Linked DNA regions of Homo sapiens: region 2 is linked to region 1. The links are contacts of gene promoters, found by promoter capture Hi-C in blood cells and fetal thymus (Javierre and others, 2016). All regions are on one chromosome and are shown on one strand. Each heading gives the region's core, a stretch centred on a gene start or on the middle of the fragment in contact. The rest is flanking DNA. Distances are from core to core; before and after follow the strand shown. Region 1 holds the start of SPRY4 (sprouty RTK signaling antagonist 4). Region 2 has its middle 95 kb from the start of NDFIP1.

Region 1 (2,834 bases), core at 29-2,528:
CCCGCCTTCCTGGAGTCAGGCCTAATGGCGGGGGCTTTTCTTTTCACCGGCTTGAGCTGATCCTCACCCCCGCCCCCCAACGCCACCATCATTAACAGCGAAGAAAGGATCCCCAGCCATTTCCATTTCCTCTGCGGCTCAAGAGCCCCGTTGTTATTTAATCCTGAGGCCACCCCGGCAGCATCCTCGGCGCAGCCGGCTCCACCCATCCACCTGGCCAGTTCTCGGCCGCTCCCACTTCCCCGGAGGGGAGGCCGGTGAGAGGTGGGGGATATTGGGGAAAGGCGCCTACAACAGCGAAGGGCCGTGGGCCTTCGGTGGACCGAGGCTCCTCAGGCCAGCGTCCTGTGAGGGCTGGGAAACCGACTGGGACAGAGAAAGGACACCTAGCTAGGGCGACAGAGAGCGGGCAGACGCCCGGGCACTGCGGACATTGCACTGGGGCGGGGGGCGGGGGGAACGCTGGGAGGCGAGGGCCAGGCTTCCTCTGGCTGAGTTGCCAGAATCGCCCCGGGGGGTACTGGAGCCGGAAGAGGCCTGGGCCCAGTCACTGTCTACACCCAAGAAATGGGGGGAGGGGCGGCCAGCACTCACGAGAGATTCAGCCTCAGGAAAAAGAACCAGATTCACTCACCAATCCTCACCCCACCCTTTGATATGAATGATGGACATTTTCCTAATTTTTGGTAAACGCAGCTTCAAGACCCCTCCCGCCTGGCGTCTCTGGTCTAGAGCAAGAGAAGGCCCCCAGTAGGGGTCCTCCCGCCCCCCCTTTTGACTGCCTGCGGGGGGCAGAGATCCCCAGATCTAGGTGTGCCCTCCACCACCCTGCTCTCAACCCGGGATCCGGAGGCCGCAGCGTCCCCCACCCCCCAGCGACACTGACGGTTCCTGCCCAGGCCCGCAGTGGCGTGAAGGTGGCCTTTACCTCCTCTCGCAGGCTGGGAGGGGGTGCAGCCCGCGCAGCTGGCCCAGCTGCAGCAGTCGCCGCCGCCCTCCATTCATTAAAAAAAAAAAAAAAAAGGCAACAACAGCCTCCACTGGAACCTCCACCCCTCTTTGTAAAAGAACGACGGCTCCTGGTGGAGCTTGAGCCAGTCCCAGCAATCACGGGTTAAGATCTTTTCCCGCCCCCCATTCATAAAAAAAGGAGCGGAGCGCATGCGCGCTCAGGGTCTGTTGTGCCCACCCATTCATAGAATCGCGAACGGCACGCGTGCGCACTGGCGCTCCCTTCCCTCCCATTCATAAAAAAGCCATTTTCCCAGGCAGTGGTTGCAACATCGCCGCGGAGGTAGCGAGCTGAGCTGACAGCGCGGAGCTGGCGCTGTGGAGCGCAGGGAGCCTTGCCGGTTCCTCCGACCGGCGTCTGCGAGTACAGCGGCGGCTAACCTGCCCCGGCTTCAGGATTTACACAGACGTGGGGCGATGCTTGTGACCCTGCAGCTCCTCAAAGTAAGTCCATGGCTGGTTTGGAGATCTGAAACTGCCCCTCTCTGAGCCGCGACGCGACTCCCCCCTTGGGCTGGGGCAAATGGTGCGCTATTTCTAGGCGCGCCTCAGTGTTCCTTCCCTCAGCCTGCGCCTCCTTGAGTCGCTGCGGTGCGCCGCAGCTCCCTGACGCCCTCGGCCCGGCCGGCACGGCGCCGGGGGTGTTCACAGCCTGGCACCGCCGTTTCCGACCCCTGGGCATTGCCAAGCCCGGCTTCCCCGCCCTCTGAGACTCGGGAAGCCCCGTGCGTGTCCCGGGAGTTTGCCTCTGGCCTGGCCTCTTTCCTTCTCCTGCCACCATCCGCCTCGAACGCTGGAACGGGCGTCTCTGGGCTTGGTCAGGAGCCACCGTTTGGGTCGGGGGGCGCCCTCGCTCTGGGCGGCTCGCCCACCTCCCAGCTCGGTGCCCACGGTGCCAGCTTTGCCGTGTATCTCCCAGCCCGCCGTAGCGGCCTATGCTCGACGTAGATTTTTTCTTTCTCTTCGGAGCCGTGACGGACTGAATTCCCTCCCCTTCTGCCTCTCCCTCGATGGTCAGCGAGGGGCTGGCTCAGGACTGGGCATTCCTACTCCCTCTCCTTGGCGAGGCGGTTCCTCGCCGTCTGACCTTTGCTCCGCTGCCGCATTTTATGCTATGCAACTGCCTTGCAGTTGACTTTTTCTTGCCTGGCCTCTGTAAGGCCTGAGGCTCCTCGGCCACCCTGTACCTCCCTATCCTCGGGCACCGAGCTGTGCCAGGCCCCGGAGCCCCCAGGCCGCGCTAGGGCTGCGGTGGGGGTTGAAGGTGCGTTTACATAACACCAGGCGTGTGGGAGCTGGAGGAAGAGGTTGCGAATGTAGGAGAGATAAGGCTCCTGCTTTCCCTCCTTCCTTCTTGGTGGTACCAGGCTTGACATCACAGAGAAGAGGATAGAGACGGTATGTTCTGACAAATTCTGAATCGCCAAGACCCCGGGGACAGTGAGCTGGGTGAGGGCGGGTTTGGCTAGCCAGGGCAGCTAGAGCTTGGCTCCATCACTGGGTCCAGGGCTGTGCCCAGTTCCCCCTCCATGCAGACGATCAAAAAGCATTTAGACAGTAGCTGCTCTTGTGCAAGAAGACGGTTTCTCAATTCTCCTTGATTGGGGGCAGGGGGTTGTGGGCAGGAGAGGCAGGGGAGACAGAAAATGGTTGCGTGGCTTATAGGGCTGAAGGATGGGCAAGAGAGGCGAAATGGGCTGGAGGGGCTAGATGGTAGGCAGAGTAGGGAGCTGCTGGCTGCCTCTTTCACCAGCTGCTGGAGGGGCATCCATATTGCCAAGGCCTCTGTGAGGGCAGGAGGCCGCCTTCTGGCGCAGCAAGGC
Region 2 (2,923 bases), core at 225-2,724, 120 kb after region 1:
AACTTTCTATCCCATACCCTATCCTTAAAGCAACTGTGAACGCCAGACCTCTCAAATACCTCATGCATAACACCTACTAGTGCGTTTCCCCCTCCTTCCTCACCAGGGGAATCCATAGTTGGGCCACTGCCCTGACCCAGGGGCTGCTGTGCCTCACCCCTCTTAATGCTGGCCCCGTGATAACTGGTCCAGTTCCAAAACCCACCTGTCAACTGCTTTCTGGGACCATTCCTTGTACCAACTATCACAAATTGGGTTCTCCAGAAGGCAGAGGCTGATATGGAGTTGAGGGTGCATGATGTTTACTAGAGATCAATAACTGTGAAAGGAAAGAGGTGCACGGGAACAGATGTAGGCAGAGGGAAAAGCCAAGCTGCAATGCAGACCTGTCAAATGCGTGGCCAGCCCAGTGCAGAGCTCTGGAGCAAATGTTGCAGCAGAGTTACCCTTGCCAGGCTGAAGTGGCCAGGCCCTGGTGCCCTCATCTCACCTGGCCCCCAGATTGGGCTCCCCTAGGGAGGCCATGGGCTCAGGCAGGACAACCCCTGTGGGAACAACAGCTAGAAGCTCCCTGCTGAGAGCACCGGGCTGGGTACCATGTCTTGCCTTAAGGGAGAGCTGGGTGATGATGGAAAATGAAAATCCTTGTGGCTGATGAGAAACTTCTGGAGAGATTTGAAGTATGGTTGGGATTTTAACAGAAAAAAGAGAAGGGAGAGACCTTCTCAATGGAGAAAGCCCCTGAAGGCTTCCTAGAAGACGGGAGAATGAGAGGCTCTGGGAAAAGGTGGGACTCTTGGGGTAGCCCCATCCGGGAGGCTGTCTTCTGGGCCTGGAGACACAGTGTGGGGTTGGGGAGGGGCCTCATGGAGTCACTTTTAACAGGCTGGAAGCCTCTTGAGGCTCATCATCTATTTGTTTCTCTCTCTTGAAAAATCGTTGTGACTATTCTTGCATAAACCCCAGAGATCTGCATGTGCCATCCACAGAGGGCAGGCTCCCAGTAGTGCCCCAGCTGGAGTCCATGACACTAGCAAAGTTCTTAGAAGGAATATCTGGCACGTAGCATCACTATTGAGAAAGCAGAGGGACTTGCCTCCTCAACCCCTGCAGGAGGTCCTGGCATTCCAACTGGACATCATCACTTCTGCTGATTTCTGCCCAGGAGGGGTCACCACCCCTCCCCCAATGCCCAACTGGCTGCAGGCGGAGCCCTGGGGGTTCACCCACCTCTCAGGAGCAAAAGGCCAAAGCAATGTGGTAAAGCTTCGCTGTACTGTTAACAATTTGAAACGGAGAAGAAAGAAAACCACAAGAACAACCCTTTGACCATCTACACACACCTCACAGTGTCTTGAAATCTACTTCATTGCTCATTTTGAAAGAACTAAAAATGAGGGTCCTCGCAGAGAAGTAAAACACCCCTGACTTGAGAAGACACTAACACAGAGGGGATTTTCTTTTTGCTTTTTATGTTTGCCTTCAATTGCACTTGAATCCAGATAAACACAAAGTCCCGTTGACACCCTCTTCCCCAGTTCCAGTCCCTTTCTGGAGGTGACCATGGTCAGTGTTTATCTTTCCAAATCTGTCTCTATGTATGTACCTACCTATATGTGTACAGATAAAAATAATTTTTGCGGCAGCATAAAAACATATTCTCCATAATAGCCTGAAGCTTGCATTTCTTTTTTCTTTTTCTTTTTTTTTGAGACAGAGTCTCACTTTGTCACCCAGGCTGGAGTGCAGTGGCACGATCTTGGCTCACTGCAAGCTCCGTCTCCCAGATCCAAGAGATTCTCATGCCTCAGTCTCCCGAGTATCTGGGATAAGAGGCGCGCACCACCATGCCTGGCTAATTTTTGTATTTTTAGTAGAGACAGGGTTTCGCCATGTTGGCCAGGCTGGTCTTGAATTCCTGACCTCAGGTGATCCACCCGCCTTGGCCTCCCAAAGTGCTGGGATTACAGGCATGAGCCACCGCACCCAGCCCTGAAACTTGCATTTCTTACACATAAATATATCTTGGAAATCTTTCCATATTAGCAGTGTGGTGGCATTGGAATGCATCCATTTGGGAAGGCTGGATTCTGTCTTCCCTGTATATGGCCAGTTAGGGGGGACCAAGAGACGTTTAGGCTGAGATTTGGATATCCTGTATTGCTGCTCATTTGACGGCTGCAGCTGCTCCACCTGCCCTGTGTCCTCCTTCAGCAGCTCCATCTCCTGCGCCAGGTGTGTGTTTGGCTTTGTGATGAAGGAAGAGGTCAGCTGCTCCCGCAGGACACTTGTACCAACAAGTTGGAGGTGGAGAGAGACTCCTGTGGATCTTGTGGGCTCCTGCTGGTTCTCACTCTTCCCTACTTACATCCCTCTTCTCTTCCTGCCGTGTGGATGCCAAGCTCCAGTGTCAGATGAGAAGGTAACAGCCTTCCCAAGACAGTTTAGCCAGCTCCCCGATTGCTTAAAGTCAAATCCCCATCTCTCTCTCTCTCTGTCTCCCTCTCTCTCTTCCTCTCCGTCTCTCTCTCTCTTTCTCTCTCTCTCTCTCTCTCACACACACACACACACTGTACCTCCTAGTGGTTCTACTGCTCTAATTGAACTGTTGAGAATACATAATGATACTTCATTCTTTATTCTTTTTAACCACCATGAAAATGGCAATGTGATTTAGCCTCTCTCCTATATGAGACCTTTGGGAAGGTCCACTTTGTTCCTCTAACAAACCATGCTATAATAAGCACTCTTGTTCATATTTGTTTGTTTTTTAAACCATATCTATAATTAGTTCTCCAGAAAAATTAAGCTGATGATTCAAAAAGTTTGCATATCTTACATTTTAGGAAGTAGGTCCAAATTGTAGGAAGGCTGCCTGGAACCAATGTAGATAGGGAGCATTGATGCAGTGGTTTTAGTCTCT

The links. Contacts are between HindIII fragments. The CHiCAGO score rates a contact against its expected background, and 5 or more counts as called.
Region 2: a fragment that was not itself captured here is called in contact with the fragment with the promoter of SPRY4 in region 1 in 1 of 17 cell types (endothelial precursors); the score reaches 5.0 in endothelial precursors.

Annotation. Positions count from the first base shown.
Region 1 is chr5:142,323,465-142,326,298 of GRCh38, reverse strand. SPRY4 (sprouty RTK signaling antagonist 4) reads left to right here and starts at 1,278. Exons shown (of 2, transcript NM_001127496.3): 1 at 1,278-1,455. SPRY4-AS1 (SPRY4 antisense RNA 1) reads right to left here and starts at 1,006. Exons shown (of 4, transcript NR_120664.1): 1 at 929-1,006. RefSeq lists enhancers at 1,812-1,871, 1,353-2,315, 2,316-2,834. The HindIII fragment of the contact is 6,861 bases long and covers 1-2,834 here.
Region 2 is chr5:142,202,577-142,205,499 of GRCh38, reverse strand. No RefSeq gene overlaps it. Among named protein-coding and RNA genes, the nearest start is that of NDFIP1, 95 kb to the right of the region's middle. The HindIII fragment of the contact is 412 bases long and covers 1,269-1,680 here.